Linked DNA regions of Homo sapiens: regions 1, 3, 4, 5, 6 and 7 are each linked to region 2. Evidence: promoter capture Hi-C in human tissues and cell types (Jung and others, 2019). All regions are on one chromosome and are shown on one strand. The core of a region is centred on a gene start or on the middle of the fragment in contact, and the rest is flanking DNA. Distances in the headings are between cores, read along the strand shown. Region 1 overlaps TRAP1 (TNF receptor associated protein 1). Region 2 holds the start of ADCY9 (adenylate cyclase 9). Region 3 overlaps CORO7-PAM16 (CORO7-PAM16 readthrough). Region 4 overlaps TRAP1 (TNF receptor associated protein 1). Region 5 overlaps SLX4 (SLX4 structure-specific endonuclease subunit). Region 6 overlaps CREBBP (CREB binding lysine acetyltransferase). Region 7 has its middle 13 kb from the start of SLX4.

Region 1 (3,619 bases), core at 1,120-3,619, 440 kb before region 2:
TCCTGGGACAGACGGGCGGTGGTCTCAGGCGTAGACCCCTCTCCAGCCCCACCGCTGGGCTATGCCGGGTAGTGCAGGGGAGACACACAAGGCTCTGGGGCAGGAGCTCCTCAGGACAACATGTCAGGAGGACCAGCCGGGACCTGAGGGGGCCTGTGGGAGAGGATGACGCTGCCCAGCAGGGGCGAGCTGACGAATACAGTGTGGGCCGTGAGAGCGATGACGACCCACGCTGCACCGCAGCTGAGCCGCGAGGGGGAAGTCAGTCACTGAGGACAGCATGCCGTGTGACTCCATCCAGGAGAAACGTCTGGAACAGGCAGCACAATGGACAGAAAGGAGACCGTGGCTGCTGGGACTGGGGGAGGGGCAGTGGGGAAAGGGCTGCTTTTTGGGGTGATGGGATGTTCTGGAATTGATGCGGGGTGGCTGCACAGCTCTGTGGCTGCACTGAACACCATGGCTGCACACTGATGTGGTGAGCCAGCTGGGATGGGCGTTACGCCTCAGTGAACCCTGACCCCTGACCCCGGCTGCCCGGTGCACAGGGGCAGGGCTGTGGTAGAGCTGGGCCCCTGTCTCATCCCCACACCCAGGTCTCATCTCCACAGAGCAGCTCGCCCTGTGACTCTGGGCCGCATCCCCTGGGCTCATCTCTTCTCCGCTGCCCTGAAACGTACAGATTTGTCTCCATGTTTGACCAGTCCCTAGAGGAACTCAGGGCTCACCTGCAAGGTGTTCATCCGCCTTCCATTCAAGTACAAGGGGAAGCTGACGAAGTTGCTGTACTTCGTTACCACATCTGGAAGGGACAAAAGAAAAACCACACTGCATCTACAATGCTTGTGGAAACGCAAGCTTTGCAGCAGCTCCAGGATGAGCGCCAGCCTGCTGGGAAGGGTCCTCCATGCTGTGTACACTTCACAGGTACAGAAACAGGGCACAGTGGGGACACCTGTCCTCCCCCCAGTCTCACGGGGGCAGCAGCGGAGCCCACGTGAGAACCAGAGCTGTGGAGGCCCCGGCTGCTGCGAGACTGCAATGTCAGCTTGTGGCTGGAACATGGCTTTCTGGGCTGACTCCTGGGGGTACTCAGGGCCTCCCTGAGTGTCCAGCAGGACACAAAGAGGGAAGGCCACGCCCACATCCTGGGACAGGACTGCGCCAAACCCCCAGGTGCACTAAAGGCCAAGGGCCACGCAGAGGAAGGAGGAGGAGGTCCGCCTCAGCCAGGCCAGCTTCCTCCCAGTCCCAGCAGGAGCTCGATGCTACGCAGCCCTGGCGGGCAGCCCCCCTCCCAGTCCCGCAGCGGCTCGGCCCTTCACGGCTCTGCCTGTGCACCCTACGTGCAGGTAGAACCAGGGAAAATGCCTGCTGACCTGGTGGCCTCCAGGCCACACATGGATCCCAGAGTGAGCCTGGGCCCGGGCTCCCGCTCACCTCGCACCCGGGCCTCGCTGGAAAACTCCTTGCAGTCGGATTTCAGGTGGATGATGATTTTTGTCCCGGTTCTAACTCCCGAAGCTTCGGCGATTTCAAACACTCCAGAACTAAGGCAGGCAAAGAAAGGAAAAGCCAGGTGGATGTGACACTGGGACATACCCTGCATGGGACTCCAGCGGTTCCCGAGGGTTTCATAGGCAGAGCCCAAACAACACACAACACACCTCAAATGCCCCATTTCTGACCCCAGCGCACCACTCAGGCCATCACATGCCCATCAGGAACGATGAGCCTGTCGCAGGCGGCAGAGTTCTCCTGGTTCCCTCGGGCGGGGGGCGGGGGGGCGGGGGTCCTCCACCGACCCTGGGCTTCGAAGAAGCTTCTGGGCTTACCCCAAAAGCAGGCCTGGGGCACTGTGGGGGACTGGCCCAGCTCCAAATCGGGTGCCAGATGCCCAGGGGCAAAAACAAAGGCCAGGGGGACAGGCGCCCCCTAAGAAGAGCAGAAAACCATCTCCGAAGCACAGGAGGGGGGAATCCCCCGGCAGGGCCATGTTGATGCCTTGGCCTAAGTTTACTCTGAGCCCCGCTCCCATGGAATTAAACAGGAATGTTAGTTTTGGGAGAGTGGGGAGTCAAGCTGAGCACAGTGCACACACTGTGGAGCAGAAATGGCATCACGGAGGGAGGACGCCTCGGCTGGCTGGAAGCGGCTCACCTGCTAAAAAGCCCTCGGAGCCAGGCGTGGTGGCTCACGTCTATAATCCCAGCACTTTGGGAGGCCAAGACGGGCAGATCACCTGAGGTCGGGGTTCGAGACCAGTCTGACCAACATGGAGAAACCCTGTCTCTACTAAAAATACAAAATTAGCTGGGCGTGGTGGCATGCGCCTGTAGTCCCAGCTACTCAGGAGGCTGAGGCAGGCCAATTGCTTGAACCTGGGAGGCGGAGGTGGCAGTGAGCCAAGATTGTGCCATTGCACTCCAGCCTAGGCAACAAGAGTAAAACTCCGTCCCAAAGGAAAAAAAAAAAAAAAAAGCCCCCAGCAGGCTCCTCACCCTATAGAGGCAGAAGTGGGCTGGGGAGACAAAGCCAGGAAATGCCAGGGCTGGGAGGAAGCAGAATGAGCTCTTGCAGAAGGTCGGTCACAGGAGGCTGCATAGTGTCCACCAGGCGACAGGCCAGTCCTGCAGCTCAGCCACTGAGAAAGGAGCTCAGCGCGGGCCGGACCTGCCTTCCCGAGCGCAGTGGTGGTGACCAACCACATGGGACCAGACAGGTGCCATAGGCCACCTGGAGCCACAAAAGTCACTAACTCCCCAAAATGGGAGAGTCAGATTTCATATAAAAAGCCCAGAAAATGCCTGTGTACGTTTTCTGAGTCCATCCCTTTCCAAACTCCATGCTAAGGGCTCCAGCTCAGCTTTGAGCTGCCTGTCAGGCGACATTCGTCACTCACCCATCTGAAAGCCACTGGTAACCCAGGCTCCCCGGGGCTGCCGAGCGGGAATAGACCTCCACTCTGTCAGCCACCATGAAAGCTGAGTAGAAACCCACTCCAAACTGGCCGATGATCTTGCTGCTGGCCTCAGCCTGGTTCTGCAGAGCATCCAGGAAGGCCTGTGGGGCAGAGGCCAGTTAGTGAGGCAGCCTCCCCTCCAGAGAGCAGACACTCCCAACACCGTGGCTCTTCTGCGAGCACCGCTAAGACCCCTTCATCCTGAAAACAGCCACACCGAGTACTTTTCCACCCCATTCTACACGTGAAGAGCTAAGTCACAGAGAGGTGACACATTAGCCCTAGGACAACCAGCTGGCAGCAGTGGGACAAGTGTGTTTTCCATTTGATTCCCAAAGCTCACAGTCCTGCCTGTCCCAGACAGGTGGAGGCCTGTGGGTCACACCTGGGGGTGGGGAAAGAGCAGCTTGAATAAGCTCTTTCCCTTGAATAAGCTCCTTCCATAGGAAGGCCAGGAGTGAGGAGAGGCTCCAAACTGGCTTCCATATTCAAGTCTCCTGGACTCTACACTTTGTGGGAAAAAGAGTAGAAATCACGCGCATGCGTCTGTAAGCACCGCACAGCACTTCATTTTTCTACTATAATACTGCCAAAGGTCCTAAGGCCAAAGTCAAGTAAAATACACACGCCCACTGCCCTGGCCCACGTTGTCCGATG
Region 2 (3,639 bases), core at 629-3,128:
GGCGTGGATGCAGCCGTGGAGCAGCCCCCTGCTCAGCAGCTCCCAGTGCAGGGCCCCGGCTCCGGGCGAGGGGAAGCAGGCTTCATCCCGGAAATGGTAGCCAAAGGTCTCGAAAAGGACAGAGTAGGCCACCCCCAGACACAAACTCAGGTACAAAGGTAAGTGCATGACGGTATAGAGCAAAAAGAGCACTTCGATGCACATGGAGAAGCTCCCCACTTGAGATAAGCAAGTATCTGTGGGCCGGGCTGTGGCCGTAAGGTTGGAGCTGTCGCCGCGTCCTGAGACAGGCGTCAAGACCTGGAACTGCGCAGCCAGGGTCAGGGCGAACACCAGCAGGGTGAGAGCCAGCGAGGTCCACGCGTAATGCCGGGCGTACAGCTTGGTGAAGGTAAACAGAAAGAAGCCCACACACACCAGGAGGAAGCACAGCGCGGGGGCGACCATGACGATCAGTCTGGATCTCATGTGGACCGCAAAATAGATGCTCCACAGAAGGCAGGCGAAGCCGATGTAGAAGAGCGCATACCGGAACCGGCGCTGGGTCTGCGGGAAGCAGCGCTCCAGGCAGGCCTCCTCCAGGTTCACCGAGTCGAACTTGGGGTCCCACCAGCGGCTGGAGGCCCTCTCGAACAGCTGGGGCAGCTTCTTCTGCCTGCGCAGCCGGCCTCCGCCGCCCACTCGCCGGGGGACGCCCCCGGAGTCCCCAGAGCTGCTGCAGCTAGAGGAGATGCTGTATTTGCAGTGCTTGGGGTGGCTGTTGGAGGACAGCTGCTTGGGGTTGATCTTGACGCGCACGCTGTTGCTGTCCCCGCTGGAGTCGCAGCTCACCTCGGTGCTGTGGTGATGCAGCAGCTGCTGGTGGGGTGGGGAAGCCATGTTGTCGAGTCCCGGGGCCTGCCCCGGCCGGGGTCACCAGTACCTGCCAGCAAAACGGGGAGAGTTAGCGGCGCTCCCACCTAGGCATGCACGCCTAGAGGCCCGGGACCTGCTCCTGTCCTAAGGGGCGGCTCCAGCACGCGACCTGGACAGGCACCATCTGTTCCTGTGGTTCCCGGCTCAGCGGTGCTCCCACCGCCCCCACCGCCCCCACCTTCGAGGCGCACGAGAACCGCTCGGGACGGACCTAGAACGCCCGGGGGTCCCCGCCGCGTGGCCGCCGTGGCTCCGGGACCGCTTTGCTCGCTCGCCTTCCGCGCCTCTCGCCCCGAGGGTGGCCTCCGCGCCGCGCGGCTTCTCCTCCTCGCGCGCTCGCCTCCTCCAGCTGCGGCTCCGGAGGGAAGTTCAGACCTTGAGCGCTCCCAGCCCCGCGAGCCGCCTGCGCACAAACAACTCCGCTGGCGGCGCGGAGCCCTCCATCCTGCAGGAGCCGCGCTCCGATGCGTCAAAGGCGGCGCGCGGCCGGCCCCGGGCCCGGACCCCGACCCGGAGCAGCGAGCTTCGGCGGGCGCCCCCGGCTCGCGCTCCCCGGCCGCCCCCCGCGCTCCGGGCCGGCCCTGCCCGCGGCGGCGGGCGCTGGGGGTGGGGGCGCCCCGGGCTGCGAGTGCGCGGAGCCCGTCGGCGCGGCCCGTCTAGTGGGGCCTGCTTCCCCCCGAGTGCGCCGCCGCTCCCGCCGCGGCCGCAGCTGTCCCGGGACCGAGCGCGTGGAACCACGGACGCGGGCCCCTCGCCGGGCGGCGGTGCAGACGCTGCCGCAGAGCCGGGCTCCCGCGACGCCGGCCGGGACGCCCGCCCGCCCGCGCCCACGCCGGGGGCCGCCTCCCCGAGCTAGAGATGCGGCCGCCGCCGCGCCCGCCGCCGTGTCCCCCGCGGCCGCTGCCTCATGTCGGAAGAGCTGCCGCCGCCACCATCTCCGGCCCCTGCCCCGCCCGCTGTCACTGACAGACGCGCGCCCGCGCCGCCCCTCGCCCAGCCGCAGCGCGCACGCGCGGCCCGCGCTCGCCGCCACCGCCTCCTGGCCCCGGACACGCGCACGGGCCGCGCGCCGCCCCGCCTTGGTGCGCGCGCTGGGCTGGGGCTGCGGGGCGGGGCGGGGCGGGGCGGGGCGCGCGCTCGGCTCCGCCCCCCGCCCCGGGCGGCGCCGCTTCTAGGCGGCGGGCTGTGGCCGCTGTCCGCGCTCCGGGCGCTGTGGGCCCGCCCTCCCTCGGCGTCCCAGAGGCCGCGCGCCGCCCGGGGTCCCGACCCTGCGGAGAGACCTGAAGGCGCCTGCCGTGGAAGAAGCCGCTGGCCGCAACGTTTGGGAAATCAAAATGTTGCCTTCCCACTCGGCACGCCTTTGGGATAAATCGAAGTTTCCAACCGTTGGATTTCCCTCCCGGGAGGCTCCCCTTGCTCTGTAAGCAATGAATGCGGGCCCCGGGGCACTCGGCCTGCCCTGGACCTGCTCACGGGGCGACCTTCACGGGCCTAGCCTCCAAAGCTGGGCCCACCGACGACCACGTTCCCCCGCCCCAGGGGTAGTTTACCTTGCTGTCCTTGAGCCCTTCTCCCCCTCCTCATGAACTACTGCTTTTCCTTTTACACAAATGAGACTTTCAAAGGAGTCCGCGTCCCATAATGGCAGTTGTGCATTGGCCTCCATAAACATTGCCACGTGTAAATAAAATCCTATTCTCTCTAGCATGCAGATCCCGACCCCTTCTCCCCACACTCCACAGTGCCTCCTGCCAGTCACGGGGCTCTCTTCCATCCCCTCCCTCGCCTCCCAGGCCCAGCGCCGGGGCCCACACCAGGTCTCACTGTTGAATTAGAAAATAAAAGTAAAATGTGATCTGTCCATGCAATGGAATATTATTCGGCTACAAAAAGGAATGGAGCACCGATGCATGCTGCAGTGTGGAGGAACCCGGGAAACGTTATGCTAGTGAAAGAAGCCAAACAAAAAAGGCCACATAGCGTATGATTCCATCCAGATGAAATGTCTCGAATTGGCAAATCCGTAGAGGCGACACAGATTGGAGGTTGCCAGGTGCTAGGGGAGGAAGATAAGCAGCTTGGGGTTTCGTTTTAGGATGATGAAAAAGTCTAGAAATGATCCAACAGGATGAATCTACATACTGCCCTTGAATCATACACTTTAAAGTGGTTTAGGCCGGGAGCGGTGGCTCACGCCTGTAATCCCAGCACTTTGGGAGGCCGAGGTGGGCGGATCACCTGAGGTCGGGAGTTCGAGACCAGCCTGACCAACACGGAGAAACCCCATCTCTACTAAAAATACAAAAATTAGCCGGACGTGGTGGCACATGCCTGTAATCCCAGCTACTCGAGAGGCCGAGGCAGGAGAATTGCTTGAACCCGGGAGGCGGAGGTTGTGGTGAGCTGAGTTCGCACCATTACACTCCAGCCTGGGCAACAAGAGTGAAACTCCATCTCAAAAAATAATAATAAAATAAAATAAAGTGGTTTAAATGGTAAATGTTATGTTGAGTGTATTTTACCACAATAAAGGAGGAAAAAACTAAAAGCAACATATTGTGGTGGTATTCCTGCAGAAGTGTGTAATCTCAATCCAATCGCAAGAAAACACCAGACAAACCCAGATTGAGACCTGTTCTACAAAGTGATTAACCAGTACCCATCAAAAGTGTCCTTGGACACTTTGGGTCTTGAAAGACAAAGACTGAGAAACTGTCACAATCT
Region 3 (3,619 bases), core at 630-3,129, 260 kb after region 2:
AGCCTGTCCCCTACTCAGCAGGCACACCGCCTGCCCCAGAATCAGTGAGATGTTCTCGCCAGGGGCTGATGTGGTCACCAGATGCCTGGGTCCCACCCCAGCCATGCTATCCCCTGGCCCGTCCCCGCCTGACCCTGGGCGTGTGTGGTGTACCCCAGAGGTGGGTGGGCGTCCCCCTGGGAGTTGAGATGACGAGTGCCTTGTCCTCCTTACTCATAGGGCCCCTCCCTGAAGTCCTGTGCTGAAGGGGCCGCCAAGGGACAGCTCACCCACCACGTGCCCCCTTCCAGAACCAGAGATACCCCACCCCCGCTCCCCAGCCCCCAGGGTGAAGGGCAGCCTTGGTGTGGGGATGTCTGATCTGTGTAAAGCTGGCCTGAAACCCTCTCCCTTAGTAGTACCCACGCCCAGGGGGCAGGCAGAGTTCTGCGTTTATGAGTGACGCCCTCCGCAGTGAATGTTTACCGACCACTTGGCAAGTGCTCCGAGCACAGACCAAGTCACCCCAGACACAGGCACCACGAGCACCACGAGCAGCGCCCACTGCACAATGGGGGCTGAGGTAGGGGTCGTGGCCGGGCTGTGGACCCTGTCGCCCTATGCCAGTTACTGTGCCAGGGAGGGAGCAAGGCCGGCAGCAGCACTCAGCAAGGCTGAGGAACTTGGGTGGAGGACGGAGGCCCCAGACCCTTGCGTCATCTTCCCACCCCCCGACGTCCCCGAATCCCAGGAATCCCAGGGCTGCCTCCGGAACACCTCCTGCACCAGGCAGAGGAAAAGGTCTCACCTCCCTGCCTGACTAGTGATCAAATATCAAAGCCCAGGTCCTGGGATCACCGGGTGGGAGGGTGGGTGGGCGGCGGCAACCACCGTGTGACCTGTAGACAGCCCCCAGCCCCACGCACACACCAAGCACACGCCCAGACCCCAGGCGGGCGGGACAGCTCCCAGAACTTGTTAAAAGAACTTCCCCATTTGAAAACAAACAGAACAACAGAAAACTACAACTCCAGAGGGTGAGGGGGCAGGGCTGCTTGCACCAACTCCAGAGGTGAGAAACTGAGGCCCACAGTTGAGAAAGGAACTCTGGCCTCTGTCCCCTGCCACCGTCCCCTCCACAGTCAGCCTTCCCTCGCTGGGTTCCTCTCGGGGCTGGCTGATGGGTTCTCAGTGCCAGGAGTCCCTGGCGGTGCCCTCAGAGCTGCCAGCCTGTAGCTTACAAACTCTGGGGTTTTCCAAAGCTCCAGCGCTGCCTCCTCCCTCCTCCCTTTGATGTGGGGGTAGAATTGGGGCTCAGGCAAAAGAGCTCACCGCACATTTTACGGGGCTGGGAAGCAGGCTGGCTGCCGCCTGCTGGATGGTCAGCCCAGGACCCCAGCCCACAGTCCTGACCTAGACCCCTGTCCTGCTAACAGGAACGCACATTCCACAGCTCACTACCTGTCAGCCGGAAAGCCACCCTGTGGCCAGATGGACCCACAGCATCCCCTCTCCCTTCACAACCTTGCTGATTAAAGACCCAACAGATTACGGAGCCCAGAGCTATGGCTGGTCCCCCTCCCCAGTGCAGGGTGAAGAGCACCCCCCAGCACGTGCCCCTAAGAGCTGGCCTGCACACCTGGCCTTGCAGGGCTGAGGACTCCACATGCATCCCCCACTGCAGCCCTGAAGTGTCCCAGATACTCAGATGAAGAAACCGAGGTGTGAGAGCAAAGTCACTGTCTGCGGCCTCACAGCTTGGACACCTCTGAGCACAGGGCCGCCTGCCTGGAGTGAGCGCTCTTAACTGTGACCTTAAACGAGGCCCAAGGGGAGCTGCGGCCACAGTGGTGGCCAGGCTGGCCAGGCTGGCCACGTGGAGGATCCCCTCCCACTCTGGAACCTGGCTGCATCCTTCCTGACCCTGGTCTGGCCCTGCTGGGAGGGCTAATTCAGGCAGAGGTGGCCTCACCCCCCATATGGACATGGGGTGGGTGGGGGTCACTCACAGCCCACATCTGGAGGCCAGGCCGCACCCGCCGTCCTCTGAGTCAGTGAGGGTGGAGCGGGTCCCATGGGGGAAGAGAAGGCTAGGGGTGTGGCCCCAGGGCCTTAGGTCATCAGACACGAGCCCCCCTGGGGTGGGCTGGCCGGGCCAGGGACGCGTGCCTGGGGTTTGGGGTGCTAACTTCTTCCAGTGCTCAGTGCCAGGCCCTCCTGGGCTGTTCACTCAGCAGACCTGAGCTAAGTGGGCCTGGAGACACCTATGGCAAAGGCAGGCTGGGTCTCACCTTAGGGAGGTGAGGGGGCACACGACAGCAAGGGGGACACCGCTAGGTTGGGGAGGCTTAGCCTGCTGGCCTCTGAAGGGTGCTTGTTGTCGCTAACTGGCTAGGGGCTCAGGGTCGGTAGCTCCTAGGGGAGACGACTCTGGCAGTGCGATACTACACGTGGGCAGGGCCTGCGTGGGCCCAACCCCGGGGACAAGGGCTTCTTCCTTCACCTCGAGCTACCCGCAGACCCCAGTGGTCACCTCACCAGTGACTTGTCTAATCTGTCCTGGGACCACCTGCTCCTCCTCACATTCCAGGAACCCACGTACCTGGGGGAGAGGGAGCCCTATGGACGGGTCCCCCCAGCCTGGGGCGGAGTGCAGGCTGGGTCGGGGTCGTGTTCCCTGGACTACCTGCACAGCCTGTGTGGGGGAAGGGGAAGCCCGGACTCCAGCACAAAGGGCTCTTGTGTGAGCTGCAGGCGCCACTGGGCAGGATGCTTCCTGGGGATGGGCTGGCACCCCGTATGAGGCTCAGGGACTTCTAGGGGTGCCAAAGTGGGGAGGGCTCTTCCTGGGGACGGCCCCAGCGGTCTCCCCAGGAGTCTAGGTGATGGGGGCCAGCCACAGACCTGCCTGACTTGGGCAGTGCAGCTAAGATCTGGAGCCTGGAGCGGCTGGTGGGAGCCCCCGCCCCCAGGGCCATCTGGAGGGCACGCACCCTTCACAGGTGGCTGCTGCACACCTGGGCTCTAGCTCGGACTTGCTGGCACCGCAATGGCAGCGAGTCCCTGCACCTCCATGAGCCCTGCTTTCTTCTGTCTGCCCTGACGTGGCTGCTGGGGGGCTACCTGAGGTGACGGTAAACACTTAGTGTTCCTTCGTCCTTCCCACTTCGCTGGCACATGGGAAGGACTTGCACCATCACTGCCAAGGGGATGGCTGCTGCTCATCTTTCTTGGTGCCCAGCTCAGGGCAGACCCCAAGAAACAGTAGACGAAGCCGGGCACGGTGGCTCATGCCTGTAATCCCAGCACTTTTGGAGGCTGAGGCGGGCAGATCACCTGAGGTCAGGAGTTCCAGACCAACCTGACCAACATGGTGAAACCCTGTCTCTACTAAAAAAAAAAAAAAAAAAAATACAAAAATTAGCCATGCATGGTGGCTGGCACCTGTAGTCCCAGCTACATGGGAGGCTGAGGCAGGAGAATTGCTTGAACCTGGGAGGCAGAGGTTGCAGTGAGCCGAGATCTCGCCACTGCACTCCAGCTTGGGTGACAGAGCAAGACTCCGTCTCAAAAAAAAAAAAAAAAAAGTAGATGAATGACTCTGCAGAGTTTTCCCAGGCCTGGCACTGCCCCTGGGGCT
Region 4 (3,839 bases), core at 613-3,112, 410 kb before region 2:
ACCCCGTCCCTACCAAAAATACAAAAACTTAGGTGGACATGGTGACACGCACCTGTAGTTCCAGCTACTTGGGGTACTTGAGGCGGAAGGATCACTTGAGACCAGAGGGTAAAGGCTGCAGTGAGCCGAGATCACACCACTGCACTCTAGCCTGGGTGACAAAGTGAGACCCTGTCTTTAAGAGAAATTTAAAAAGCTGGGTGCGGTGGCTCACACCTGTAATCCTGGCACTTTGGGAGGCTGTGGTAGGCGGATCACCTGAGGTTGGGAGTTTGAGACCAGCCTGACCAACATGGAGAAACTCCATCTCTACTAAAAATACAAAATTAGCCAGGTGTTGTCGTGGATGCCTGTAATCCCAGCTACTTGGGAGGCCGAGGTAGGAGAATCGCTTGAACCCAGGAGGTGGAGGTTGTGGTAAGCCAAGATGCTGCCATTGCACTCCAGCCTGGAGAACAAGAGTGAAACTCCGTCTTGAAAAAAAAAAAAAAAAAAAAAAAGCATTCAGTAAGATGGTAGAATACAAAAATCAACACCCGGACGTCCTATATACAGAAAACTAGTTAGAAAATATGACATAAGAGACCCCAGGAACAAAAACTAAACAATTAAGAATGCATTTACCAAGAAAGCAAAATCTTTCCTTTTTTTTCTTTTTTGGCAAGATCTTTTAAGAAAACTCTGAAACACTACTAGGGCCAAAGACTGTCATTAAATAACCCACTTAAGACTGTTACATATGCTACATACTCACAAGCGGAGGACTAACAAGTAAACTACAGACGTAAGGTAACACTTGGAAAGCATGGGATTATAGAGAAATGGGACAATGCTGTGTAATGTGTGCTGATGCTGAATTACCTCTAACACAAAGAAAAAACACTAGAGGTAGAACAGCGGTTTGCACACACTACCATGGTGTTCAAATGCATATACATGTTATGTGATACATGCATGCATAGCTATTCTCATATGCCACGCAGATCTCTGCAAGGACACCCAAAAACTGGCTAATGGACTTGCCACCAGGAGGGGTGTTGTCTGAGGCATGTCAGTGGGAGACGAGTTTTTCATCAGATATACCTCTGTATCGTTTGCATATTGGACTACATATATCAATAATCTACAAAATAAATACCCTACTTATAAAACTATTTACAAAAGTTAGGCTGGGCGCGGTGGCTTACGCCTGTAATCCCAGCACTTTGGGAGGCCGAGGCGGGCAGATCACGAGGTCAGGAGATCAAGATCATCCTGGCTAACACGGTGAAAGCCAGTCTCTATTGAAAATACAAAAAATTAGCCGGGCGTGGTGGCGGGTGCCTGTGGTCCCAGCTACTCGGGAGGCTGAGGCAGGAGAATGGAGTGAACGCGGGAGGCGGAGCGTGCAGTGAGCCGAGATCGCGCCACTGCACTCCAGCCTGGGCGACAGAGCGAGACCCCGTCTCAAAAAAAAAAAATCAAAAAACAAAACTATTTACAAAAGTTACATTACAGGCCAGGTGAGGTGCCTCACGCCTGTAATCCCAGCACTTTGAGAAGCCAAGGTAGGCAGATCAGCTGAGGTCAGGGGTTTGAGAACAGCCTGGCCAAAATGGTGAAAACCCGTCTCTACTAAAAATACAAAAATTAGCTGGGCATGGGGATGCACACCTGTAATCTTAGCTACTCGCGAGACCAACGCACTAGAATCGCTTGAACCTGGGAGGCAGAGGTTCAGTGAGCTGAAATTGCATCTCTGCACTCGAGCCTAGGCGACAGCACGACTCTGTCTCAAAACAAACAAAACGTTGCATTATAAAAAACACTTAAAAACTTACGAGAAACATAAACACATTTACAAAATTTCAAACACATTTTTAAACTATTCTCATTCTAAAATTCATGTGGAAAAGTTAGTGTACATAAATAGCCAAAGAAATTTTGAAAAAACTGAGGAAATTCATCAAATATTAAAGAACATTAATATAAAGCTACAATATTAAAATAAATTTCCAGACCAGGCATGGCTGCTCACACCTGTAATCCCAGCACTTTGGGAGGGAGATCCAGGCAGGAGGAGGCTCCCTCGAGCTCAGGAGCTCGAGGCCAGCCTAGGTAACATAGGGAGACCCCCCCAACTCTCAAAAAGTAAACACACACAAAAAAAGGTTAAATTAATTTCCAGCAGGGCACAGGGGCTCATGTTTGTAACCCCAGTGCTTTGGAAGGCCAAGTTGGGAGGAACACTTGAGGCCAGGAGTTCTAGACCAGCCTGGGCAACATAGCAAGACCAACCTCTTATTTTTTTTTTTTTAATTTCCGCTGTCACTTATTAAGTCAAAATGAATTCCAGATGGACCATAGAAGTAAAAATAAAAGCTAAAAGTACTGAAAGAAAACATGAAAGATTTAGTAACTTTATTGAGATGTAACACATCTGCCATATAATTCACCCAAGTGCACAATTCAGTGGTTTTAGTATATTCACAAAGTTGTACAGCCACGACCACTAACCACAGAACATTTTTTTTTTTGAGACGGAGTCTCGCTCTGTCGCCCAGGCTGGAGTGCAGTGGAGCCATCTGGGCTCACTGTAAGCTCTGCGTCCTGGGTTCATGCCATTCTCCTGCCTCAGCGTCCCGAGTAGCTGGGACTACAGGCGCCCGCCACCACACCCGGCTAATTTTTTGTATTTTTTTTTTAGTAGACACAGGGTTTCACCATGTTAGCCAGGATGGTCTCGATCTCCTGACCTCGTGATCCGCCCGCATCGGCCTCCCAAAGTGCTGGGATTACAGGCATGAGCCACCATGCCCGGACAACTACAGAACATTTTTATCACCCCAAAAGAAGCCCTACAGCCACTCATGTTCACTCTCTTTTCCCTCTCCCACCAGCTCTTGGCAACTACTCATCTATGTCTGTCTCTATGGATTTGCCTTTTCTGGGCACTTCACAGAAATGAAATCATACAATATATGGTTTTTTGTCTGGCTTCTTTGACTTAGCATAAAGTCTTTGGGGTTCATCCACATATAGCATGTATCAGCACCTCATTCCTTTTTATAACTGAAGAGCACTCCGCTGTATAGATTATTTTTTTCCATTCATCAAATGATGGGCAACTGGGTTGCTTCCAAATTTTTTGTGAGACAGAGTTTCACTCTCGTTGCCAGGCTGGAGTGCAATGACATGATCTTGGCTCACTGCAACCTCTGCCTCCCGGGTTCAAGTGATTCTCCTGCCTCAGCCTCCCGAGTAGCTGAGATTACAGGCATGTGCCACCACACCCGGCTAATTTTATATATATATATATTTTTTTTTAGTAGAGACGGGGTTTCTCCATGTTGGTCAGGCTGGTCTCAAACTCCTGACCTCAGGTGATCGGCCCACCTCGGCCTCCCAAAGTGCTGGGATTACAGGCGTGAGCCACCAGTCCCGGCCCTTTTTTTCTTTTTTTTTTTTTGAGACGGAGTCTCACTCTGCAGTGGTGTAATCTCCGCTCACTGCAACCTCCAATTCCCAGGGTCAAGTGATTCTCCTGCTGAGGCACCCGCCACCACGCCCAGTTAATTTTTGTATTTTTAGTAGAGACGGGTTTTGCCATGTTGGCCAGGCTAGTCTCAAACTCCTGACCTCAAGTAATCCACCCACGTTAGCCTCCCGAAGTGCTGAGATTGTAGACATGAGCCACTGCACCAGGCCCAGCTTCCAACTTTTTACTGTAACTTTTGTTTTGGGGTGGGGTGGGGGTCTCACTATGTTGCCTGGAGTGCAGTGGCTGTTTACAGGCACTGTCATGGTGCATGGTAGCCTCCAACTGGCAGGCTTAAGCGATCCTCCCACCTCAGCCTCCC
Region 5 (4,062 bases), core at 1,497-3,996, 510 kb before region 2:
ATTAGCTGTAGGTCTGCCGATAATGGTTTCTTCCTATTTCTTTTCCTTTTGTATATTTTCATCAGAGATGAGAATCCATATTGTTTTGGGGATGGAGAACAGGAGCACCTGGCATTATTACGCTTATTGGGCCGGTGCCACACCAAGTACACAGCAGCTATGGGGCACTGTCGCCACCCTGTCTCACCTGCAGCCAATGAGCCTCTAATCTACTCAGAGTGGGGCAACCCAATGGTTAGAGGAAGGAGTTAACGATCCCATAAAGAAATAAATCCAGAAAGTGGGAAATCTTATAATACAATTAGCCTAGCCTCTTCAAAAACTCAGTGTCATAGGGCTGGGTGTGGTGGTTCACACCTGTAATCCTAGCACTTTGGGAGGCTGAGGAGGGCAGATCCCCTGAGCTCAGGAGTTCAAGACCAGCCTGGGCAACATGGTGAAACCCCATTTCTAGTAAAAATACAAAAAAATTAGCCGGGTGTGGTGGTGGGTGCTTGTAATCCCAGCTACTCAGGAGGCCGAGGCACGAGAATAGCTTGAACCTGGGAGGCAGAGGTTGCAGTGAACCGAGATTGTGCCACTGCACTCTAGCCAAGCCTCTGTCAAAAAAAAAAAAAAAAAAAGTCAGTGTCATGGAAAACAAAAGGAAATGGGGGACTATTCTAGAATCTAGACCTTAGGATACTGCTGAGCTACAGCAATATGCAGTGTGTGAACTTACTGAATCCTTGTTCAGAAAAAAAAGAAACCAGCTACAAAAAATAACCTTGAGACAACCAGGGAAATTTGAGTTTGAACTGGACGCCAGGCACTATTATGGAATTAAGCGTGCTAATGGTATTGTGGTTATGCAGCAGAATCTAGGGGTAAAGGATCCTAATGTCTATAATTTACCTTCAGATAATATGGAAGAAAAATATGTACGCTTGGCTAGGCACGGTGGCTCACGTCTGTAATCCCAGCACTTTGGGAGACTGAGGTGGACAGATCACAAGGTCAGGAGTTCCAGAACAGCCTGGCCGGCATGGTGAAACCCCAACTCTACTAAAAATACAAAAATTAGCTGGACGTGGTGGTGCATGCCTGTAGTCCCAGCTTCCTGGAAGCTGAGGCAGGAGAATGGCTTGAACCCAGGAGGTGGAGTTTGCAGTGAGCCGAGATTGCGCCACTGCACCCCAACCTGGGAGACAGACCAAGACTCCATCTCAAAAAAAAAAAAAAATGTATATTTATAAAGACATAAACAAATGGCCAAATGTTAACATTTGTTAAATCTAGATTGAGGTATAGGGGATTAGGGGATTCATTGTAATTTTTTTTTTTTTTTTTTTGAGACAGGGTCTCACTCTGTTGCCCTGGAGTGCAATGATGCAATCACAGCTCACTGCAGCTCAACGTCCTGGGCTCAAGCAATCCTCCCACCTCAGCCTCCCGAGTAGCTGGGACTACAGTTGTGCACCATCATGCCCAGCTAATTAAAAAAAAATTTTTTTTTGAGTCAGAGTCTTGCTCTGTTGCCCAGGCTGGAGTGCAGTGGTGCAATCTCGGCTCACTGCAAGCTCTGTCTCCCAGGTTCACGCCATTCTCCTGCCTCAGCCTCCCGAGTAGCTGGGACTACAGGCACCCACCACCATACCTTGCTAATTTTTTGTATTTTTCATAGAGATGGGGTTTCACTGTGTTAGCCAGGATGGTCTCAATCTCCTGACCTTGTGATCTGCGCACCTCGGCCTCCCAAAGTGCTGGCATTACAGGCGTGAGCCACCACGCCTGGCCCCTAAAATTTTTTTGTAGAGATGGGGGTCTCACTATGTTGTCCAGGCTGGTCTCGAACTTGTGACCTCAAGTAGTCCTCCTGCCTTGGCCTCCCAAAGTTTTGGGATTATAGGCATGAGCCATCATGCCTGGCTTCATTGTAATTAAAACAACAACAACAAAAAAACCTTTTCTGAAAGGAAGAGTTCTTTGTGAATACTGAGGGTTATCTTTTTAAAAGGAAAAAACTGAAAGGGAAAGCTTTCATAATAAAAAGTCATAATTTTTAAAAAAAGGAGGCCAGGCACAGTGGCTCACGCCTGTAATCCCAGCACTTTGGGAGGCCAAGGCGGGTGGATCACGAGGTCAGGAGATCGAGACCATCCTGGCTAACAAGGTGAAACCTTGTCTCTACTAAAAATACAAAAAATTAGCCAGGCGTGGTGGTGGGAGCCTGTAGTCCCAGCTACTCGGGAGGCTGAGGCAGGAGAATGGCGTGAACCTGGGAGGTGGAGCTTGCAGTGAGCTAATATCGTGCCACTGCACTCCAGCCTGGGTGACGGAGCGAGACTCCATCTCAAAAAAAAAAAAAAAAAAAAAAAAGGAAGAGGGCCAGGTGCAATGGTTCACGCCTGTAATCCCAGCACTTTGGGGAGCTGAGGTAGGCAGATCACTTGAGGTCAGGAGTTCGAGACCAGCCTGGCCAACTTGGCGAAACCCTGTCTCTACTAAAAATACAAAAATTGGCCAGGTGTGGTGGCACACGTCTGTAATCCCACTGGCTGGGGCAAGATAATTGCTTGAACCTGGGAGGCGGAGGTTGCAGTGAGCTGAGATCATGTCACTGCACTCCAGCCTGGGTGACAGAGCAAGGCTCTGTCTCAGAAAAAAAAACAAAACGGTACCTTATCAAGGAAGCTAGGTGGGAAATGATCCCAGAGACTCTTCATTCTCTGGCTGGATCCAGTGAAGTGGCAAAGGTAAAACATCAAGCAGAGAGCCTATCCACAGAAGAAACTCAACAAATGCTGATTCCTTCCCGCCTCCCTTCCTCAGAGTTGTATTAACTTATCTCTGTGTGGAAGACAGAAACACACTCATCATACCATTCCCCGCCATCATCTCCTCTTGAGGATCCTTTGGGACATTTTCTTCCCGCGCAGCCTCGAGGGAGCACTCTTCTGAAGCGTGTCTCAAACGCTCGGGGTCTGCTCTCTTGAACTGCTGCATTCGCTGTAGGACCAATTGTGCTGTGCGGGGTTTGGAGGGACTTGGCACTGCTGTTGTCAAACAGGAAGGAGGAGGCTGGGAGTCGCTGTTGGGCACATTCTCTGGCAAGGAGGAAAATATTCACAACCATCTGTTGTAGCTGGAGAAATAAAAGACTTTTCTACCAGATACAGGTTAGACGCAAGTTTCAAGAGTCCTTTATCAACTAGTTTAGGTTTGACTCACAAATGTGAAGAGGACTGGTTGCTTGTTGGTAACCTCTTTGTTTATGGCAATATAGACATAAATATCAATAACAGGAGGGGAATGGGATGTGACTGCTAATGAGCATGGGGTTTATTTTTAGGATGATAAAACTGTTCTAACGTTAGGTAGTGGTGGTGGTTGGACAAGTCTGTGAATATACTAAAAACCACTGAACCATACCCTTTTAAATGGTGAATTTTATGGAATATCAATTATACCCCAATAAAGCTATTATTAAAGAAATATTAATGACAAAGGTTTATGTCCTAGATCAGTTCTTCTTTAACTTGGGATCCACGGATGATCTTCAGTGGGGATCCATGAACCCCATGAAGTTGTGTGCCAGTTTTGCAGATACGCGCATGGATACGTGTTTTGGGGGAACCATGCATAGATTTCATCCGACTGGCAAAGAGCACGAGAGACCAGTAAAGTTGGTGAGGCAACACTGCTGATGCCTTCCAGTAGTCTATGCGACCTGAGACTCTACCACCACTCTACTGAGAGGTTATTAAGATCAGGAAGTGAGGGCAAAGGAAATTTAGAAACAGAACTCAGGAGCTCAGAGAGCCCATGGTGTATTATATATGCAAGGGTAGTTTTCAGTTTTGCATGAAGAATGTGTAGTAAGCATATAGCTCAGTATACCAAGGGCAGCAGGGCAAGAAAACTGCTTTAAACAGTTAAAAAATTATCCAGGCACGGTGGTGGGTGCCTGTGGTCCCAGCTACTCGGGAGGCTGAGGCAGGGAGGACTGCTTGAACCTGGGAGGTCAAGGCTGCAGTAAGCTATGATAGCACCACTGCACTCCAGCCTGGGTGAGAGACCAAG
Region 6 (3,968 bases), core at 709-3,208, 300 kb before region 2:
CAAGGGGAATTCTTTCAGTTTAATCCTTAATTACTCTATAGGTATCTAGTTTCTGTTAGGTTCCCCATCAGATTTGAACTAAGTTTCCATTAGTTCAAAACACACAGTGGAAATATTGCAATGAAATGATACAACACCTGGGATCTCCTTTAAAATACACCTGACCCATGACCAACATGGGTTTGAACTGCATGGGTCTACATATATGGAAATATTTTTCAATCTCTCCTGCTCCTCTTCAAACTCCTCAGCCTCTGCCAACCAAGAGATCAAGACCAGCACCTCCTCATCCTCCTCAACGTGAAGACAATGAGGATGAAGACCTTGATGATGACCCACTTTCACTTAATGAATGGTACATATATTTTCTTTTCCTTATGGTTTTATTTATTTATTTTAATAGAGACAGCATCTTGCTCTGTCGCCTAGGCTGGAGTGCAGTGGAGCTGTCTCGGCTCACTGCCAACCTCTACCGCCTGGGTTCAAGCGATTCTCTTGCCTCAGCCTCCTGAGTAGCTGGTACTACAGGCACGTGCCACCAGGTCCGGCTAATTTTTTTGTATTTTTAGTAGAGACACGGTTTCATCATGCTGGCCAGGCTGTTCTCAAACTCCTGACCTCAGGTGATCCATCCACCTTGGCCTCCCAAAGTGCTCGGATTACAGGCATGAGCCACCGTGCCCGGCCCCTTACGGTTTTCCTAATAACGTTTTCTTTTCTCTAGCTTACTTCACTGTAAAGATACAGTATATAACACATAAAACATGAAATTTGTGTTAAGCAAATGTGTATGCTATTGGTAAGGCTTCTGATCAACAGCAGGGGATTAGTAGTAGTTAAACTTTTATGGAGTCAAAAGGTTACAAGCAGATTTTCGACTGGCAGGGTCAGCACCCTTAACCCCTGAGTTGCTTAAGGGTCACCTCTAATCCACTGGGCAGGAGGAGGTGGCAGGAAAAGGGCATAGATGGAGAGAGCCTGGTAAGGTACTGATAATCACTAACCAAGCAGTAGGCGATGGGTACAGAGAGGTTATAGTATCCTCTCTACCACTGTACAGGTGTAAAATTTATGTATTTATTTATATTTTTTGAGAGTGTGTCACTCTGTCACCCAGGCTGGAGTGCAGTGGCGTGATCTCGGCTCACTGAAACCTCCCTCTCCCAGGTTCAAGCAATTCTCCTGCCTCAGCCTCCTGAGTAGCTGGGATTATGGGCTCGTGCCATCACACCCAGCTAATTTTTGTATTTTTAGTAGAGACAAAGTTTCATCATGTTGGCCAAGCTGGTCTTGAACTCCTGACCTCAGGTGATCCGCCCACCTTGGCCTCCCAATGTACTGGGATTACAGGTGTGAGCCACTGCGCCCGGCCTAAAATTTTCCATAATAAAGTTTTTTATAAAATTAAAGTGCACTGAAATCAAATATATACTAGATAAAGGCAGGAATGGGAAAGAGGAACCCTCAGCTATGCTTCCGTGAGGGCCTGCAACCAACTGGAATTCCTTCCATCAACAGATGTGGGCCAAGTTCCCTGATGACCCCCAGCTCCAGCCTCCACAGGTCAATTCAGGAATTGCCATGGCAATATCCCAGTGCTTATCTTTCTCCCTGTGGAGAAACAACGACTAATTAAGAAACTGGATGCTTGGGCTGCCTGTCTTTGCTTTTTTGCAAAGCTCTAATATTCCACCTTCTGTCTATTGTGTGTTCTGTATTTCTGGAGTAGTGGTCAGTTTGATGGACTGGGAAGGTCCCCGCATAGGGAAAACCTCCCAGGGGTGAGTTTCCAGTTAAGAAATCATAGCTCAGTTCTCTCCATCAGCCTCACCTGGTGACTGCCACGCCAGCATGTCCACTCTGGGTAACTTAACATTCCTTCTATGGACTTCAAACTCCTCGCCTGTAAGATGAGTGTCTTGAACAAGATGGATCGTATTATTTCTTTCAGCTCTAAAAGTCTAGGCTACAAACAAATCAACACTCAACACAACTGGCCCTTTCTGCTGAAATGCCTGTACAGAAACACAAATAAAAACCAAAGGAGTATAACCAGAAAGTTCTAGCTCTGTGCATTTCATACGCAGGTGATTTCCTTCCCCATGTAGTCCTCCTAGGTGACATTTCTCACCTTTTGGAAAGCAATCACATTCTTGTCACCACTAGGTGCTCTACTTAAGTGAACTGAGACACTAATTCTTCTGCAAGTCCACAAACCAGACTCAATTTCGAGTTCAAATGACTTAATCTAGGCAAGATGGTAGCTCGATAAATATTAAGCACATTTCTGATTTGCAAGAAGCTTCCTTCAACTGTCATCTGAAACTTAATTGAAGCAGGAATTTATATTTTCAGAAACCACTATACTAAATTAATTCCATGGAACACTTACTACTCTCAGAATTTGTCTTATTACATATAACCAAACCGCTGAAACATTGTTCTTAGAAGCCTAGAATTTGAATACAACAACACGAACAACAACAAAAAATATAGTTTTTTTTCCCCCAGTTCCTAAATTTCTGACTTCGGACAAAATATGACAGAACACCCACACTCATTTTCCCTCGATCAATTCATCCTCGAAGTCAACTGGTATTCACCAAGTGCCTGGTATGAGCCAAGCCCAGTTCTGAGGCTGCGTAGATGCATTTCCCACTTGTCACGGAGCTCACACCTTATGTCAACCAATTTGACAAACAAACAAACAAAAAATCAACGTCTTTTGGAAGTTTCTAATTAATTAGGCCCAGCATTGACAAACCAAAGTGGGTGACAGCTGAAGGGGTGGGGAAGGGAACAGGTAACCATCTTCCTTCCACACCAAATGCCCAGGCACCCTGGCTCCAGAGAAGAGGGGACCTAAGTACCAAGAGGCCAGTGTGCTCTGTGGACCTCAAAGTTCACCTGACTTGCTTCAGAAAGTTTATTTCCAAAACTTCCCAGATATTTTGACAATTTTCCTAAGATAGCCCTGCCAGGGTGAGTATGAGTGTGTGATCAGATGGGTAATACTTGCCTGGCCTGGGGCCCTTTTCTAACTGGTCAATGTTGTTTAGTGTGTGTGTGTGTGTGTGTGTGTGTGTGTGTTTGAGACAGAGTCTCGTTCTGTGTGTGTGTGTGTGTGTGTGTGTGTGTGTGTGTGTGTGTGTGTGTGTGTGTGTTTGAGACAGAGTCTCGTTCTGTTGCCTAGGCTGGAATGCAGTGGCATGATTTCAGCTCCCTGCAACCTCCGCCTCCCAGATTCAAGCAATTCTCGTGTCTCAGCCTCCCAAGTAGTTGAGTTCACAGGCATGCACCACCACACCCAGCAAATTTTTGTATTTTTTAGTAGAGACAGGGTTTTACCATGTTGGCCACGCTGGCCTCAAACTCCTGGCCTCAAGTGATCCATACACCTCAAGCCTCCCCAGGTGTTGGGATTACAGGTATAAGCCACCACGCCTGGCCATAACTGGTCAATTTCAAAGGGTAACCCAGTGTTTGGAAGCGCTCTGACAGATTTCATCAAAAACGTGTTTGTACCTTTTCTTCTTGGCCATCAGATAAGAGAGTGAAGGAAACAGTCTCAACAAGTTTTTACCTTGATTCTCACAAGGTAAAAAAGATGGCAAGTCAAAGATCATGAACGGTATGTAAGGAACGTCCAGCTCATAGGGATCTACACAATTCTCAAAAATAGGGGAAAAAATTCCCGTCTTTAGCCTATGATAAAAACAAAACCCAGGCTACATGCAGGAGGTTAGGGTTCAAATCTCTGGCACCAGGGCCAGCCCCAGCCTCTCCTTATCAGAGAAAGTTAATAACCAGGCTAAAGAGGTCAGCTCTCTCACAGGGTATCACTGCTCATTGCCCAGGCAAGGCTACCTCCTGGTGCCAAACCACCTCCTGGCAGAACTCAAGAGCCATGCACTGGTCCTAGCCTGCAGTTATGAATAAAAACCATTTGCTTCTAGAGATTCTAGATT
Region 7 (4,035 bases), core at 1,144-3,643, 490 kb before region 2:
GGTGGAGGTTGCAGTGAGCCAAGATCACACCACTGTACTCCAGCCTAGGTGACAGAGCAAGACTGAAAAAAAAAAAAAAAAAAACGGAGGCTGAATCAGTTTCCATTCCGTTAACAATGAATGTCTTTTTACTCATATCCACACACTCACAGAATATATCATGAAACATTTTGTCTTTTACTATTTCAGCGGTTAAAAATTGGTGTCTTGTAGCTTTACTTTACATTTCTTTCATTGAGGAAACGAGTATTTTCTTCACGTGATTAAAAGCTACTTGTTTACCTATGACCTTATGTTTGTGGGCTTTGCATTCTTTTAGATTGTGTGATTAATCTTTTTCCTATTGGTTTGTAAGATTATGTGATTAATCTTTTTCCTATTGATTTGTAAGAACTCTATATTGTGGAAATGGATATAGTGTTACAATGTTACAGATAGTTTTTACCAGTTTTTATCATTTGACTTAAAAAAATTTTTTTTCTTTTTTGAGGTGGAGTCTCACCATGTTGCCCAGGCTAGACTTGAACTCCTGGGCTCAAGTGATCCCCCTACTTCAGCCTCCCACGTAGCTGGGACTACACCTATGTGCTACTGTACCTGGCTTGGCTTTGACTTTTAATAAAATTTTTTCCATGTAGAGCTTTACAGTTTTTTGTAGTAAAATAACTTTTCTTGTATGCACATACCTTCTTCCAGTGTTTGACTCACCTTTACGTTCTCTTAATGATGCCTTGTAATGAACAAAGGTTCTTCAAAGCTGGAGGCATCACATTACCTGACTTGAAATTATACTACAAGGCCTCTTTTGGGAGAGTGAGGGGAAAGGATTTCTTGAGAGCTTGAGACCAGCCTCGGCAACATAGTAAGACTCCATCTCTAATGTACCTGCCCCCCACGTCCCCCCAAAAAAATTAGCTGGGCATGGTGGTGCACACCTGTGGTCCTAGCTACTCATGCAGTAACTAAAACAGCATGGTACTTGTACATATTTTTGTACCATAGATCAGTGGGACAGAATAGAGAACCCAGAAGTAATGCCACTTGCCTGCAACCAACTGATCTTCAATAAAGTTGACAAATATGCAGTGGGGGAAGGACACGCTATTCAATAAATAGCGCTGGGAAAATTGGCTAACCATATATAGAAAAATGAAACCGTACCTCTATCTCTCACCGCATACAAAAATTAACTCAAAGACTTAAACATAAGACCTGAAACTCTAAAGATCTTAGAAGAAACCCTAGGAAAAACTCTTCTGGATATTAGCCTAGGCAAAGAATATATGACTAAGACCTCAAAAGCAAATGCAACAAGAAGAAAAATAGGCAAATGGGACTTAATTAAATGAAAACACTTCTACACAGCAAAAGAAATAACAGAGTAAATAGACAACCTATAGAATGGGAGAAAATATTTGCAAATTAAGCCTCTGGCAAAGGACTAATACGTAGTATCTCCAAGGATCTCAACAAGAAAAAAAAACCCATTAGTAAGTGAGCAAAGGCTGGGCGTGGTGGCTAACACCTGTAATCCCAGGACTTTGGGATGCTGAGGCAGGAGGATCACTTGAGGCCAGGAATTAGAGAGAAAGTAGGCAAAGGACAAGAACACATACTTCTCAAGTGAAGACATACAAGCGGCAAAGAAACATGAAAAAGTGCTCACATCAGTAATCATCAGAGAAATGCAAATCAAAACCACAGTGAGATATCATCTTACACTGGTCAGAATGGCTATTATTAAAAAGTCAAAAAACAACAGATGTTGGCATGGATGCACAGAAAAGGAAATGCTTATATGCTGTTAATGGGACTGTAAATTACTATAACCTCTATATAGAAAACAGTATGGAGGCCAGGTGCGGTGGCTCACTACCTGTAATCCCAGCACTTTGGGAGGCTAAGGCAGGCGGATCACTTGAGTGCAAGACCAGCCTGGCCAACATGGTGAAACCCCGTCTCTACTAAAAATACAAAAATCAGCTGGGCGCGGTAGTGCACGCCTGTAATCCCAGGAAGCTGAGGCAGGAGAATCGCTTGAACCCGGGAGGCAGAGGTTTCAGTGACCTTAGACTGTGCCACTGCATTCCAGCCTGGGCGACAGAGTGAGACTCTGTCTCAAAAAAAAAAAAAAAAGGTTAGTGGCTTTTGTGTCCTTGGTTAGCAAGGTCTTCTCTACTTTGAGATTATAAAGTAATTTTCTGCATGTTTTCTTCTAGAGTTTTTATTTTTACATTAAAATTGTTATTGGCCAGCTGCGTAAGGCACCTGGTGGTGCTCTAGGCACTGGGTTAGCGTCCCTTATGCCGAGCTCTAAACCTTCAGAATGCCCTTGCCGCCCCTGGCTGAGTTCACAGTGGCTGAAGCTGTTCCCATAAGACCCTGAATCTAGCAGCCACTGTGTACTATACCTGGAGCAGTCCAACTGGGTGGACTGTGCTCAGCATCCGAACATCTAGACAGGCAAAGCCATTCCCAGTGGTGGCCCAAACCAGCAAACATTGTGTAACAATTTTTTTGCAATCAATTTTTCTTTTCTTGTTTTTTGAGATGGAGTCTTACTTTGTCGTCACCCAGGCTGGAGTGCAGTAGTGGGAACTTGGGTCACTGCATCCTCTGCCTCCCAGGCTCAAACAGTCCTCCCACCTCAGCCTGTATTCTATTTCTGTAGCTGAGAATATAGGTTTCTTCCAGCACACCTGGCTAATTTTTTATTTTATTTTTTATTTTTAGTAGAGATAGGGTTTTGCCATGTTGCCCAGGCTCGTCTCGAACTGGGCTCAAGTGATTTGCTTGCCCCAGCCTCTCACAGTCTGAGATTACAGGTGTGAGCCATCATGCCCAGCCTGCAGTTTTTCTTATTAAAACTTAATGGGGGCCGGGGGCAGTGGCTCACTCCTGTAATCCCAGCACTTTGGGAGGCCTAGGCGGGCGGATCACCTGAGGTTGGGAGTTCAAGACCAGCCTGGCCAACATGGTGAAACCCCGTCTCTACTAAAATACAAAAGTTAGCCAGGTGTGGTGGTGCATGCCTGTAATCCCAGCTACTTGGGAGGCTGAGGCAGGAGAATTGCTTGAGCCCTGGAGGCAGGGGTTACAGTGAGCCGAGATCGTACCACTGCATTCCAGCCTGGGCAACAGAGTGAGACTCTGTCTCCAAAACAAAAAACAATAAAACAAACTAATGGGGCTAGGCATGATGTTATATTCTTGTAGTCTCTGAAACTTGGGAGACTGAGAAGGGAGAATTGCCTGAGCCCATGGTTCAAGGCCAGCCTGGGCTGTGTAGTGAGACCCATCGCTGCAAAAAAAAAATTGTTTAAATAAAATTAGCCAGCATGGTAGCACATGCCTCTACTCCCAGCTATTCAGTAGGCTGAAATGGGATCGCTTGAGCCCAGGAGGTCGAGGCTGCAGTGAATCATAATCGCCTTTCTGCACTCCAGCCTGGGCAACAGAGCAAGACCCTGTGTCAAAAAATAAATAAATAAATGAAACGGCCAATATAGAATAAAGGTGCTAAAAAAGGCATAGGAGGGAATCTTCATGACTTTGGGGTAGGCAAAAAATTCTTAAACAGGGACACAAACCACTAACCATAAAGAAGTGACAAATTATGTGACATTAAAATTAAGAACCTTTATAAGGCACCATTAAGAGGGTGTAAAGGGCTGTGCATGGTGGCTCATGCCTGTAATCCCAACACTTCAGGAGGCCGAGGCAGAAGGATCGCTTTAGCCCAGGAGTTTGAGATCAGACTGAGCAAAATAGTGGGACCCTGTCTGAACAAACAATTTAAAAATTAGCCGGGTGTCAGGGCATGCGCCTGTAGTCCCAGCTACTCTGGAAGCTGAGGTGGGAAGATCACTTGAGCCTGAGAAGCCAAGGCTATAGTGAGCCGTGATTCTGCCACTGTACTCCAGCCTGGGCAGCAGAGCAAGACTCTATCTCAAAAAGGGTGTAAAGATACCACAGACTAGAAGATGTGTGTGATGTGCACGGGACTAGTATCATATGCACAATGACAAAGGATTA

What was found. The method cuts DNA at HindIII sites, captures the fragments that hold promoters and counts their contacts. A contact is called where the count stands out against the background at its distance.
Region 1: a fragment that was not itself captured here is called in contact with the fragment with the promoter of ADCY9 in region 2 in 3 of the 25 tissues and cell types used here (IMR-90 fibroblasts, aorta and dorsolateral prefrontal cortex).
Region 3: a contact is called between a fragment that was not itself captured here and the fragment with the promoter of ADCY9 in region 2, in 2 of the 25 tissues and cell types used here (dorsolateral prefrontal cortex and spleen).
Region 4: a contact is called between a fragment that was not itself captured here and the fragment with the promoter of ADCY9 in region 2, in 1 of the 25 tissues and cell types used here (dorsolateral prefrontal cortex).
Region 5: a contact is called between a fragment that was not itself captured here and the fragment with the promoter of ADCY9 in region 2, in 2 of the 25 tissues and cell types used here (dorsolateral prefrontal cortex and hippocampus).
Region 6: a contact is called between a fragment that was not itself captured here and the fragment with the promoter of ADCY9 in region 2, in 4 of the 25 tissues and cell types used here (H1 embryonic stem cells, IMR-90 fibroblasts, dorsolateral prefrontal cortex and 1 more).
Region 7: a contact is called between a fragment that was not itself captured here and the fragment with the promoter of ADCY9 in region 2, in 1 of the 25 tissues and cell types used here (hippocampus).

What each region holds. Positions count from the first base shown.
Region 1 is chr16:3,674,596-3,678,214 of GRCh38, forward strand. TRAP1 (TNF receptor associated protein 1) reads right to left here. Exons shown (of 18, transcript NM_016292.3): 6 at 2,903-3,063; 7 at 1,441-1,550; 8 at 729-802. It also overlaps the pseudogene LOC124903630. Among named protein-coding and RNA genes, the nearest start is that of DNASE1, 22 kb to the left of the region's middle. The HindIII fragment of the contact is 6,931 bases long and covers 1-3,619 here.
Region 2 is chr16:4,114,564-4,118,202 of GRCh38, forward strand. ADCY9 (adenylate cyclase 9) reads right to left here and starts at 1,879. Exons shown (of 11, transcript NM_001116.4): 1 at 1,127-1,879; 2 at 1-922. The coding sequence starts at 879. RefSeq lists a silencer at 2,017-2,086. The HindIII fragment of the contact is 7,185 bases long and covers 1-3,639 here.
Region 3 is chr16:4,376,510-4,380,128 of GRCh38, forward strand. The region is part of intron 9 of CORO7-PAM16 (CORO7-PAM16 readthrough); the gene reads right to left. All of the region lies in intron 9 of CORO7 (coronin 7), which reads right to left. All of the region lies in intron 1 of VASN (vasorin), which reads left to right. Among named protein-coding and RNA genes, the nearest start is that of VASN, 6.5 kb to the left of the region's middle. RefSeq lists enhancers at 1-588, 2,149-2,930. The HindIII fragment of the contact is 6,090 bases long and covers 1-3,619 here.
Region 4 is chr16:3,702,567-3,706,405 of GRCh38, forward strand. The region is part of intron 1 of TRAP1 (TNF receptor associated protein 1); the gene reads right to left. Among named protein-coding and RNA genes, the nearest start is that of TRAP1, 13 kb to the right of the region's middle. The HindIII fragment of the contact is 6,928 bases long and covers 1-3,839 here.
Region 5 is chr16:3,603,613-3,607,674 of GRCh38, forward strand. It overlaps SLX4 (SLX4 structure-specific endonuclease subunit), which reads right to left. Exons shown (of 15, transcript NM_032444.4): 3 at 2,862-3,086. Among named protein-coding and RNA genes, the nearest start is that of SLX4, 6.0 kb to the right of the region's middle. The HindIII fragment of the contact is 4,547 bases long and covers 474-4,062 here.
Region 6 is chr16:3,811,107-3,815,074 of GRCh38, forward strand. The region is part of intron 2 of CREBBP (CREB binding lysine acetyltransferase); the gene reads right to left. Among named protein-coding and RNA genes, the nearest start is that of CREBBP, 68 kb to the right of the region's middle. The HindIII fragment of the contact is 6,097 bases long and covers 1-3,968 here.
Region 7 is chr16:3,622,149-3,626,183 of GRCh38, forward strand. It overlaps a transcript of DNASE1 not described here. Among named protein-coding and RNA genes, the nearest start is that of SLX4, 13 kb to the left of the region's middle. RefSeq lists an enhancer at 3,846-3,945. The HindIII fragment of the contact is 6,693 bases long and covers 1-4,035 here.